2 separate regions of the Homo sapiens genome follow, and region 1 is linked to region 2. Evidence: promoter capture Hi-C in 16 types of primary human blood cells and fetal thymus (Javierre and others, 2016). All regions are on one chromosome and are shown on one strand. Each heading gives the region's core, a stretch centred on a gene start or on the middle of the fragment in contact. The rest is flanking DNA. Distances are from core to core; before and after follow the strand shown.

Region 1 (6,442 bases), core at 3,943-6,442, 210 kb before region 2:
AGTTAGAAAAATAGGAACTAATGCAAATTGTTATTGTTGTTAATTAATTAGATTAGAATTAGATTATTTGGACTGTTTCAGATTAATATCAGCCTGGAGGGAGGTGTCTAGTGGTGAGCCACAGGGCTCTGTCCTGTTTATTGTTATCAGTGGTTTGGACAAAGACACAGAAGATTAGCACAGTAGTTGGCTAGGGCCACCATGACAAAATACCACAGACTGGGTGGCTTAAACAACACAATTTTTTTTTTTTTTGAGATGGAGTCTCGCTCTGTTGCCCAGGCTGGAGTGCAGTGGCACGATCTTGGCTCACCACAACCTCCACCTCCCGGGTTCAAGCGACTCTCCTGCCTCAGTCTCCTGAGTAGCTGGGACTACAGGCACATGCCACCATGCCTGACTTAATTTTTTTTTTTTTTTTTTGAGACGGAGTTTTGCTCTTGTTGCCCAGGCTGGAGTGCAGTGGAGCCATCTCAGCTAACCTGAACCTCTGCCTCCCAGGTTCAAGCGATTCTCCTGCCTCACCCTCCCTGGTAGCTGGGATTACGCCACCATGCCTGGCTAATTTTGTATTTTTAGTAGAGACGGGGTTTCTCCATGTTGGTCAGGCTGATCTTGAACTCCCGACCAGGTGATCCACCTGCCTTGGCCTCCCGAAGTGCTGGGATTACAGGCATGAGCCACCGCGCCTGGCCACAACACAAATTTATTTTGTCACAGTCTGGAGGCTGGAAGCCCAAGATCAAGGTGTTGGCAGGTTTGGTTTCTCCTGAGGCCTCTCTCCTTGGCTTGCAGTTGGCCACGTTCTCACAGTGTCATCATAGGGCCTTTTCTCATTTTTTTTTAATCCTTCAATTACATGCAAGGGCCTTTTCTGTATACACACACACCCCTGATGTCTCTTCCTCTCATAAGGACACCAGTTCTATTGGATTAGGATCCCCTACCCTTATAATGTTATTTAGCCTTAGTTACCTTTTTTTTTTTTTTTTTTTTTTTTTTTTTTTTTTTTTTTTTGAGATGGAGTCTGGCTCTGTCGCCCAGGCTGGAGTGCAGTGGCACCATCTCGGATCACTGCAGCCTCCACCTCCGGGTTCAAGGAATTCTCCTGCCTCAGCCTCCCGAGTAGCTGGCATTACAGGTGCACGCCACCATGCCTGGCTAATTTTTGTATTTTTAGTAGAGACGGGGTTTCACTGTGTTGGCCAGGCTGGTCTCAAACTCCTGAGCTCAAGTCGTTCTCCCGCCTCTGCTTTCCAAAGTGCTGGAATTACAGATGTGAGCCACCATGTCTGGCCAGCCTTAATTACCTTTAATTAATCTAAATAATTAAGGCCAAGTGTAGAGACATTTGGGGTTAGGGCTTCAACATATGAATTTGGGTGGGCACAATTCAGTCCATAAGAACTGGCCAGCTAAAGTTAGGGTTCATTCTGAACCACAGGGACATATTTCAGATGAGAGAAATGAAATGAGAATGGGAATGATACCTATTATAAAAACAAGAATCAGTTATTGCCAGTTCTGTAGACAAGGCAGGGTCAGGTGGAGATTAGCAACACTGATACCTACAACATGGCTGAAAACACTGAGGTAAAGATAGGCTGCATTAGGAAGTATGGTGTCCATGAAAAGGGAGGTGACAACTCCTTGCTCACCTGGAGGGTGGAATTTTCTTCTGGATGCCAACAGGTAGAGGGTGTCAAGTGAGGGGTTGCATAAGAGGTAGAGAAGTTATTGAGCAAAAACCTTGGCACCAGACATATACAGGCATTAGCCAATGTGGTTTGAGCAGCTAAACCAAGTGGCAAAAGCTTGCCCTTTCAAAGACTTGCAGTTTGGGGATAGAAGCACTTTCAGTCCTGGCCAAAAAAACTATGGGCGTGGAATCTTGCAGGTATGCCGTGAATATCTGTTGAATAAAAAAAAAAAAAAAAAAAAAGGCCAGACAGGCTGACTCAGGCCTGTAGTCCCAGCACTTTGGGAGGCTGAGGTGGGAGGATCGCTTGAGCTCCAGAGTTTGAGACCAGCCTGGGCAACATAGTGAGATCCCTGTCTCTACAAAAAATAAAAATATTAGCAGGGCATAGTGGTGCATACCTGTAGTCCCAGCTACTCTGGAGGCTGAAGTGGGAGGATTACTTGAGCTCAGGAGTTCGCAGCTGCAGCGAGCGTCACTGCACTCCAGCCTGGGTGACAGAGTGAGACCCTGTCTCTTAAAAAAAAAAAAAAAAAAGGCCGGGCGCAGTGACTCTTGCCTGTAATCCCAGCACTTTGGGAGGCCGAGGTGGGTAGATCATGAGGTCAGGAATTGAAGACCAGCCTGGCCAACATGGTGAAACCCCCCCCGTCTCTACTAAAAATACAAAAATTAGCTGGGCATGGTAGCACATGCCTGTAATCCCGCCTACTCAGGAGGCTGAGGCAGGAGAATCGCTTGAACCCAGGAGGCGGAGGTTGCAGTGAGCTGAGATTGCACCACTGCACTCCAGCCTGGGTGACAGAGCGAGACTCTGTCTCAGAAAAAAAAAGAAAAAGAAAGAAAGAAAAGAAAATGGGCACGGTGGCTTACTCCTGCAATCCTAACACTTTGAGAGGTTAAGGCAGGGGGCTGCTTGAGTTCAGGAACTCAAGACCAGCCTGAGCAACATAAATCTGATCTCTACTAAAAATCAAAAACAAAAAAATTAGCTGGGCTTGGTGGCACTGTGCCTGTAGTCCCAGCTATTAGGGAGGCTGAGGTGAGAGGATTGCTTGGGCCCAGGAATTTGAGGCTGCTGTGATCTGTGACTGTGCCACTACACTCCACTTGAACAACAGAGTGAGATCGTGTCTCACAAAGAAAAGAAAAAGTGGAGGCTATAAAGACTAAGGTTATACTAATTGTGACTCTCAATTGCAAGTGACAGAAAACTTATTCAAACTGGCTTCCCCAGGAGAAGGCATGTGGGGCTCCTGTAACAGGGGCTCAAACTGTGGCTGGAACTGTCTGTCTCCACCTTAGTGCTGCTTTTCCCTGCATGCCCTTCAATCTTCAGTAGGAAGGAGATAGCCACAAGCTGCTTTGGGCTGACATCCTATCAGCTTAGCAAGAAGTAAAGTCAGGTGGCAGAAAGACATCTCTTTCCTAGTGGTTTCTGCAAGGTCCTAAGGCAGATTCTGATTGGACAGGCTTGGGTCATCTGGCCATTCGTGAACCAATCCATGTGGCCAGGAGGATGGAATATGCAAATTGTCCAGGCCTGGGGCACATGTCTGGGAATGGGGTCAGGATGCAGGGGCAGTGGATGTTTCGCAGGGAAAATCAGCAGAGACCGGGGGCAGTGGTGCTTAAGAGGCTGTGGCCTCGCTGTAGGTTTCAGACTGGGAGACAAGGACTCCTGGGATCTGCAGGCAACCCTCCTCTGCTGCTGCCATCCCAGGGTGGGTGGGAGAGCTGTTAAAGTTTTGAGGGGTTGTTCATCCCCCAGCTCATGGCGTTTATCTTCCATTTGCCAGACCCATCAGCCACACCCCGTCTTACTGTGATGAGTCGCTGTTTGGCTCCCGATCTGAAGGCGCCAGCTTCGGGGCCCCGCGGATGGCGAAGGGGGATGCCGCAAAGCTCCGTGCTCTCTTGTGGACGCCACCACCTACCCCCAGGGGTAGCCACTCGCCCCGCCCCAGGGAGGCACCACTGCGAGCCATTCACCCAGCTGGTCCCTCCAAGACAGAGCCGGGGCCAGCGGCAGACTCCCAGAAGTTATCTATGGGTGGGTTACACTCTTCACGCCCCCTGAAGCGGGGACTTTCCCATTCCCTCACCCACCTGAATGTCCCCAGCACTGGTCATCCAGCCACCAGTGCCCCCCACACAAATGGGCCTCAGGATCTCAGGCCTTCCACGTCAGGGGTGACCTTCCGGAGCCCCCTGGTGACTTCCAGGGCTCGCTCAGTTAGCATTTCAGTGCCATCTACCCCACGACGAGGTGGGGCCACCCAGAAACCAAAGCCCCCTTGGAAATGATACTCTTTCATCAGGGTTGCCTATGGGGCCACGGCGACAGGTATGGCCCCTTGCCAGGGTAGGAGGACATTCATCACCCAGGGAACCCCAGGTATTAAAGAAGCCCCTGTGGGGGCAGACAGACATAGCAGGGGTGGGCAGTGCCTCCCTTTATCCTGACAATCTCTAGTCGATTCTTGCCTTTTTCTCCCGATTGCGGATTTGGGGGCCACCTCTAAGATGCCTCTCTCCAGCCCTGTCTCAACCATACTCCAAATTAGTGCCAACCCAGGGGCCTGGCACCTCCCACATCATCCATTGTCTTGCTGCCAAGTGCGAATAAACGGCGTGATTGCCAACCTGGAGGGTCCCCTCTTATCCCTTCAAGCCAAGCTTCCTGCTCAGGATTAGTTTCCAGCTAAGTCTGCAAGCCCTAGAGGAGTTTTTCCAGGCTGTCTGTGAAGCCTGGGGAACACAACGGCAACTGGGAGATTTGTGAGTGAACACTGTTTCATCTTAATATGCTTCTGAATTTATTTTCATGTACTAAATAGATCAGCTCATCAAAGCCATGAATGTCACTTTTTTTCCCCCTCAGGGTAAAGGCCATTGTTAGGCCTGAGTTGATTTAAATAACAAAGTTAAATACAACAGATAGTACAAGGATGTGGCAGGCAACATGACAGCGGTGAGTGGGTAACTGAAGTTTGGGAATCTGGGGCTTCGGGAAGCGCTGGACTCTTCCTCCCGTCGGCTTCTGGCTAATGCCACTAACTTGTGGTTGGCCGGCTCTTCCTTAGCTCAGAGTACAGACAATAGTATTTTTTTAGTTTTGTTTTTAAGTTTGTTTGTGTGTGTGTGTGTGTGTGTGTGTGTGTGTTAAGGTGGGAAATAAAACACAATGGCTAGGACTTTGCCAAGTGGAGGGTCCAAGAAAGCCAGACAGTGACATGTGTGTCTGCAGAGCACTTAGGATGCAGCCCAGGACTTAGGAAAAGCAACAAAGCCTTTGCGCAGATGGAATTGCACCCAGATTGGGCAGTGTGGGCTGGGCTCTGGGCCTCTCCTTGCCCCCGTCTTCCTGTAAGGCACCTCCAGGAGGCACCAGGATTTTAGGGAGTCCAGTTGGAAGCCACATCATCTGGTTGGTACGTCTGCCTTGGGGCAGGGAAGAGTGGACACTGCTGGGGAGGGAGACCTGCAGTGCCCAGGACCAGTGACACACAGAAACACCTGTGGGGTCAGGCAGGCCAGCTGTGCTCTCATGCAAACATGCTTTGTTTTTTGTTTGTTTGTTTGTATGTTTGTTTGTTTTTGGTGTTTCTTTTTTTTGTTTTGTTTTGTTTTTTAAGACACGGGGCCTCGTTTCCTTGCCCACCCTGGAGTGCAGTGGTGCGATCATAGCTCACTGCTGACTTGACCTCCCGGCTCAAGCCATCCTCCCCCTCAGCCTCCTGAGTGGCGGGGACTACATGCATGCACCACCATGCCTGGCTAACTTCTTTTAAAAATTTTTTTGGACTGGGCGCGGTGGTTCATGCCTGTAATCCCAGCACTTTAGGAGGCCGAGGCGGGCGGATCACGAGGTCAGGAGATCGAGACCATCCTGGCTAACACAGTGAAACCCTGTCTCTACTAAAAATACAAAAAATTAGCCGGGCGCGGTGGCAGGCGCCTGTAGTCCCAGCTACATGGGAGGCTGAGGCAGGAGAATGGCGTGAACCCAGGAGGCGGAGCTTGCAGTGAGCCGAGATCGTGCCACTGCACTCCAGCCTGGGCAACAGAGCGAGACTCTGTCTCAAAAAAAAAAAAAAAAATTTATAGAGAGGGATTTCATTCCTTCCAGTAAGAAACAAGAAAAAAAGGGAAAAAAAAGAGACATGAGTCTCACTATGTTGTACAGGCTGGTCTCAAACTCCTGGCCTGAAGTGATCCTCCCGCTTCAGCCTCCCAAAGTGCTGAGATTACAGGTGTGAGCCACCTCGCCCAGCTGCAATGTGCATTTTAAACATATAGAATGTTTAAGCTTCCTGGAACTTTCACTAACAATTAGTTACTCACGCCCACCTCAGTTTTTCCTGAAACATCCATCTCTCTTTTGCCTTCCCATCTTCCCCTTTGTTTCCACAGACATAGGCCAGAAATAACCTCTCTTTCCTGGCTGGGCATGGTGACTCATGCCTGTAATCCCAGCACTTTGGGAGGCCAAGGTGGGTGGATCACTTGAGGTTAGGAGCTTGAGACTAGCCTGGTAAACATGGCAAAACGCTGTTTCTACTAAAAATACAAAAATTAGCCAGGCATGATGGCGCATGCCTGTAATCCCAGCTACTCGGGAGGCTGAGGCAGGAGAATCGCTTGAAACTGGGAGGCAGAGGCAGTAGTAAGCTGAGATCCAACCAGTGCACTGCAGCCTGAGCAACAGAGCAAGACTCTGTCTAAAAAAAAAAAAAACAA
Region 2 (6,404 bases), core at 997-3,496:
ATTTGAACTCGGGCAGCTGGCTCCAGGGCTCAGGCTCTCTCTGCGACCCATGGGTGTGGCTCAGGCTCCTGCTTCTGGATGGGCTCTGGGGGATGAAGCAGCTGGGGTGGCCCGGGGTCTAGCCACAGCCACGTCCACCCACCCAGCCTTCCCATCTCCCCTGCCTTCTGCTGAGAGTCTCAGGGAGGATTTGATTCTCCTCAACTTGGGCCGGGCCAGAAGAGATCAGCTGACGATGGCCAAGGGGCTCTCTGGTTCCCCCTCCCTCCACCATCCCAGAAGGCCAGGCAAGGGTGGCTAGCCAGAGACCCATCTCCAATGCCACCTTGTCCAGCCCCCTGTCCTGGGCACTCCTAGCTTGGACATCCATCCCCCGCTCCCAGAATGAGCCAGACATCCCTTGGTCAGAGGGAGAATGAGGGGTGGGGATTCCAACTGCCCCGCCAGACTTAGCATCCCCTAAATAGGTCACCCCTTGTCTATCTGAATTAACTGACATTCGGGGCCTGGGAGGGGAACTTGAACAGACACCCTCTCTCCGCTGGATCTCTCGAATAAAAATCAGAGACTGGGGCAAACTTCAAAACAGGACATCCCCAAATCGGCATGAACTTTCAGCTCCTGGAGGTTAATCCCCAAACAATGGGATCCCGGTTTTTATTTAGTTATTTTTAGAGAACCTCCCTCTGTCACCCAGGCTGGAGTGCAGCGGCATGATCTCGGCTCACTGCAACCTCCGCCTTCTGGGTTCAAGCGATTTTCCTGCCTCAGCCTCCCAAGTAGCTGGGATCACAGACGTGCACCACCACGCCCGAATAATTTTTGCATTTTTAGTGGAGACAAGGTTTCACCATATTGGGCAGGCTGGTCTCGAACTCCTGACCTCAAGTCATCTGCCTGCCTTGGCCTCCCAAAGTGCTGGGATTACAGGCGTGAGCCACCACACCGACTGACTTGACATTAAAGGCCGGTGTAGGTCACCAAGGCCTGGCCTCAGGGACAATCGGGGTGGGAGTCAGAGGAGCCGGCCACGAAGACCCTTTTCAGGTGGGTTTGGGGCGCCTCTCTCGCCGTTTGTCCCAGGCGGTGCCATGGGATGCCTTCAGGTAAAAGGACAGGGCTCCCTCTGCCGCGGCTTTCCGTGAAGTGAGCATCCATTAACTGCATCCAGCCTGCCCCAAGGATCCCTGCCCCAAGGATCGCAAGACTTCAGAAGAGGTTGTGCCCGGGGAGGAGGAGGGAGGGAGCCCTGAAGCCGCTGTCTGCCCACTCCGGCAGTCGGAAGCCACCTTCCCTTTCACTTGGTTCACAGTAAGTGCTCAGTCGATATGAACTATTATGAAATCTGGGCTGGACACCTTAAGTGCAGGTCATCCTTTCACCGTCACAACCACCTGAGGAGGAAGGCGCTATGCTCATCCCCATTCTACAGATGTGGAAGCTGAGGCACAGAACTGGACACAAACTCAGTGTTTAGGCCCAAATGGCTGTTTTTTAAAAATTTGAGACAAGGTCTTGCTGTGTCACCCAGGCTGGAGTGCAGGGGCGCAATAATTGCTCACTGCAGACTCGACCTCTTGGGCTCCAGCGATCCTCCCAACTCAGCCTTCCCAGTAGCTGGGACTACAGGTGTGCACCACCACACTATACTAATTAAATTCTTTTTTTAGGTCAGGAGTTCGAGACCAGCCTGGCCAACATGGTGAAACCCCATCTCTACTAAAAATACAAAAATTAGCCGGGCGTGGTGGCACACGCCTGTAGTCCAAGCTACTCGGGAGGCTGAGGCAGGAGAATCGCTTGAACCCAGGAGGTGGAGGTTGCAGTGAGCCCAGATTGTGCCATTGCACTTCAGCCTGGGTGACAGAGTGAGACCTCTGTCTTAAAAAAAAAAAATTTTTTTTGTAGAGATTGGGGGGGGTCTCACTCTGTTGCCCAGCTCAGTCTTGAACTTGTGGCCTCAAGCAACCCTCCCACCTCAGCCTTCCAAAGTGTTGGGATTACAGGCATCAGCCACCATGCCCAGCCTTGACAGACTCTTTCTATGTCTCCCTCTTCCCCTGGGAAACCACAGGCTAGCCCGGGACACTCCAGTCCTGAGGTGGGACTGAGGATGGGGCCACTTACCCGGCAAAGGTGATGGGTCTGAGCAGGAGTCAGAGCCAAGCCAGCGAGGGAGGGATCAACTGAGTAGATAGCCCACGAAGAGAGGGGGCTGAGGACGGGTGGACAGTCTTCTGAATGGTCCCAGGGGCTACTTGGTCCTGGGCTTTATTCCTCTGGCACCTCTGGGCAGCCAATGGGGCCCTGGGGCTGGCTACACCCCCCCCTCCCTCCTGCCAGGACCCACCCCCCTGGCTTGAGGCCACTGAGGCTGTCAGAAGGGAGGTGGAATCTGGCCAAGCTTTCTTCTTTGGCAGCTTCCTCCTGCCTTTCCCACAACCCACTCCTCCTCCCTCTTTCCACTTCCCCTTTCTGTCCTCAGTTTCGTGAAAGGAAAATAAAAAATTGGGACCCCCAACTCACTATGCCAAAAGAAAAAGAATTAAGCTAAAAGCTGAGTCATGTAAGAAACTGCCTTTCCTTTAGTTCCTAAGCAGATAGCTTCAGATGAAAGGTTAAATATTGGCTCCGCATTTTGGGAGGCCGAGGCGGGTGGATCACCTGAGGTCAGGAATTCGAAACCAGCCTGGCCAACATGGTGAAATCCCGTCTCTACTAAAAATACAAAAATCAGCCGGGTGTGGTGGCACGTGCCTGTAATCCTAGCTACTCAGGAGGCTGAGGCACAAGAATTGCTTGAACCTGGGAGGCAGAGGTTACAGTGAGACTAGATCTCGCCACTGCACTCCAGCCTTCACAACAGAAAGAAAAAAAAAAGTTAAATATCTCCACAGGTCGCTACTCTATGTTCACCTTATCTTATGTAAAGTGCCGATTTATTGAGATCAAGACAAATACATAATTGGCTACTTCCCTATCTGCCCCTCTTCTCTTACAAACTGTGGATTTGGTAATGTGGCCATAGCCTCCTTCTTTCCCCTCCAGCTTGCTTTTCTCCTTTAAATACTGACACCTAAAGTCATCTCTGGAGAAAAGCACAGACCTGTCTCCCAGGTGCATTCTTAACCCTGGCGAAATAAATTTCTAAATGGATTGAGTCCTGTCTCAATCTTTTTGATTCTTTTTGATTTACAGATTGGAGACTCATGAAAGGGACCCTGGGTGGAGGTGGCCCTGACCTTTGACAAGTCTCCTACTGGTGCTTGGTGGGTCTTGCTCTGTCACCCTGGCTGGAGTGCAATGGCATGATCTTGGCTCACTGCAACCTCCATCTCCTGGGTTCAAGCGATGCTCCTGTTTCAACCCCCCAAATAACTGGGAGTATAGGCATGTGCCACCACACTCAGCTAATTTTTTGTATTTTTAGTAGAGATGGGGTTTCACCATGTTAGCCAGGCTGGTCTTGAAGTCCTGACCTCAAGTGATCCACCCGCCTCAGTCTCCTAGAGTGCTGGGATTACAGGCGTGAGCCACCATGCCGGCCTTGAGCGATCTTGATTGCCCTCCAAAATAGGACAGTTTGCTGAGGCCTGGGAGCTCCCCACCTCCAGAGAACTCCTGATCTCCCACAATTGGTTGATATCTAAGCTTGATTTCCCTGAACAGCTCCTTTTCTGCGTTTTACTCACTTCCAACAAGGAAGGTGAGTTTTCTGGCTTCCATGATGATGGCAAGCAGGCAGCTCCTTTCTGGAGTTTCGCTTGTGTCCGGCAGGGAAGGCAAGTTTGAGATTTCCCCGCTTCTAGGATGGTAGAGAGCGGTCTTCAGCCTGGGCCCCATGACTAGAAGTTAGGGTTAACAACCAGCTGGTCTTAATTTCTCCCTACTTTTAGAGCGTGCAGTAATCGTATAAATTGCTTGATTGTTTGTTTCCCTTGCTTAACTGTTTTTGTTTCTGTTGTTGTTTTGTTGCTTCTGTCTTTTCCCCATTGGACTGGACCAACTCCATTTGACTTGGTCAAATCTGAAGGAAAGTTTCATATTATGGCGAACAAGGTCTCATGAATTGGCTAAATACCCACAGCTGGAAAAAAAAAAAAAGGAAAAAGAAAAAACAGCCAGCAAAAGAAAAAAGAGAGAGAGAGACAAGGATTTTGATTACCTGAGGGGCATTATTTACATAACAAGGCCATCTTTTGCTAGCCAAGCCAAACTGAAAGAGGCTACATGGCTGTCACCTCACGCTAGTTCAGTAGCTAAGATTCTGTTCCTTTTTCACCACCGTGGCCTGGGCTTGGTTCCTAAATCAAGTCCTTTCTGGTTTGATGTTTGTGTTACTTTTGAAATATTAGCAGTTTGTCCCAGCTAAAATATGGTGATGAGATTTAAAAGGATTTTTTAAAGAGCTCAATGGTTAAAAGCTTAATTAAAGGCGAATATCTAAGATGTGTGTGTGTGTGTGTGTGTGTGTGTATTTATTTATTTATTTATTCATAGGGCCTTAATGCATTTTTTTCTCTCTTAGGATCTGTTTTTTTTTTGAGATGGAGTCTTACTCTGTCGTCCAGGCTAGAGTGCAGTGGCATGATCTCAGCTCACTGCAACCTCCACTCCCTGGGTTCAAGTGGTTCTCCTGCCTCAGCCTCCCAAGTGGCTGGGATTACAGGCGCACACCACCACACTGGGCTATTGTTTTTGTATTTTTAGTAGAGACAGGATTTCACCATGTTGGCCAGGCGGGTCTTGAACTCCTGGCCTCAAGTTATTCACCGGCCTTAGGCTCCCACAGTGCTGGGATTACAGGTGAGAGCCGCCCCACTTGGCCAGGATCTTGTTTTTTGAGAAAAAGTTTTCTTTTTTCTTCTCAGTTGACTGATTTCTGTTTTTTCCAATTTACTTCTGCCTGTCTCCTTTCTCTTGCCACCCTCTACAGCTCAAGGAACCTAAAATAATTTCTAACAGCTTGGGACTCCCTTAAGGAAAACAGAGAAAGTGCCAGACTCCTTTTTGGGGAGAAACCTCTGTTTTTCCATAACCTTATGGAGCCCTAAGAATATAAACAGATAAGTTCCTCTCAGATCTTCAACTGCTTGCTTTTGTTGTGTGTTACCTGACTTCTTTTTTGACTAAAATCTTTATTACAACAGGGGCTACTCTTGAATGTTTAAAACAGGAGAGGGTCTGGATGTGTGGGCCTAGTTATATATAAAAAAATTTTTTTTAAAGATAAGAGAGAGTATGGTTTAGACCCTTAGAGAAATGTCTTTGCAACAAAGTACACTGTAAAAGCATCACACAGCCTAGGTCCACCATATCATTCTCTTTGGAGACCCGGGATTCAGTGTGGGCTCTGTCCAGAGCTCTGAGTTCCAGTTAAAAGATAGAAACTAAATGTAAAACTACCTATCTAAATAAAATATATTTATTTGATAGATTTCTATAACTTAATGTTTGATTTGATTTGCTTTTTTTTTTTTTTTTGAGACTCTGTTGCTCAGGCTGGAGTACAGTGGTGCGATCATGGCTCACTGCAGCCTTGACTTCCCAGGCTCAAACAATCCTCCCACCTCAGCCTCCCAAGCTGGTCTTGAACTCCTGAGATGGGAGGAGGTCGAGCCATCCTCCCATCTCAGCCTCCTAAAGTGTTGGGATTACAGGTGTCAGCCACCATGCCAGCTGTGGCATCCATTTTAAATCTCTCTAACACACCCAGACTCTCTTTTCTCTCTTTCTCTACTTTGAGATAAACATTTTGCTATCTGATTTTCATCTAAGAGTTGTTTATTTAGTATGTAAATTTAAGGCTATCTAGCTGGCAGTTGCCTAGGGTAATGAAACAGGTTATCCAGAAATTAGAGGTTGGGCTGGGCGTAGGGTGACTAGCACTAATTCCAGCATGTTGGGAGGCCTAGGTGGGAGGATGGCTTAAGCCCAGGAGTTTGACACCAGCTTGGGCAACATAGTGAGACCCCATCTCTACAAAAAATAAAAAATTAGCTGGGTATGGTGGCATGCAACTATAGTCCAAGCTACTTGGAAGGCTGAGGTGGGAGGATCACTTGAGCCTGAGTGGTTGAGGCTGCAGTGAGCCATGCCCACACCACTGCACTCCTGCCTGGGCAACAGAGTGAGACCCTGTCTCAGAAAAAAAAAAAAAAAAGAAAGAAACAAAGAAGAAAAGAAAAAGAAATTCAAAGTCTTAAATAGGAGGAAAAAAAAGGAAGTCTTATGAATTTATAAGATCTACCTCTGTCTGTGTCTAATACATGTATCTAATGTTACTACTAAAAATAGACAACAGAGCTCTAATGAAATGATTTAAAGAAAAAAGTACTTAAATCAGATACTTTATCAGAAAAATAGAGACTGTGAGCCCAAATGCTTTCTCAGGATTCACAAAA

Evidence for each region. The method cuts DNA at HindIII sites, captures the fragments that hold promoters and counts their contacts. A CHiCAGO score of 5 or more calls a contact.
Region 1: a fragment that was not itself captured here is called in contact with the fragment with the promoter of SDS in region 2 in 3 of 17 cell types (M1 macrophages, M0 macrophages and megakaryocytes); the score reaches 7.4 in M1 macrophages.

The regions. Positions count from the first base shown.
Region 1 is chr12:113,187,812-113,194,253 of GRCh38, forward strand. It overlaps RITA1 (RBPJ interacting and tubulin associated 1), which reads left to right. Exons shown (of 4, transcript NM_032848.3): 4 at 3,499-4,557. The coding sequence ends at 4,006. Among named protein-coding and RNA genes, the nearest start is that of RITA1, 5.3 kb to the left of the region's middle. RefSeq lists an enhancer at 3,681-4,334 and a silencer at 6,293-6,442. The HindIII fragment of the contact is 1,633 bases long and covers 4,377-6,009 here.
Region 2 is chr12:113,401,641-113,408,044 of GRCh38, forward strand. SDS (serine dehydratase) reads right to left here and starts at 2,247. Exons shown (of 8, transcript NM_006843.3): 1 at 2,128-2,247. RefSeq lists enhancers at 1-185, 186-685. The HindIII fragment of the contact is 9,232 bases long and covers 1-2,402 here.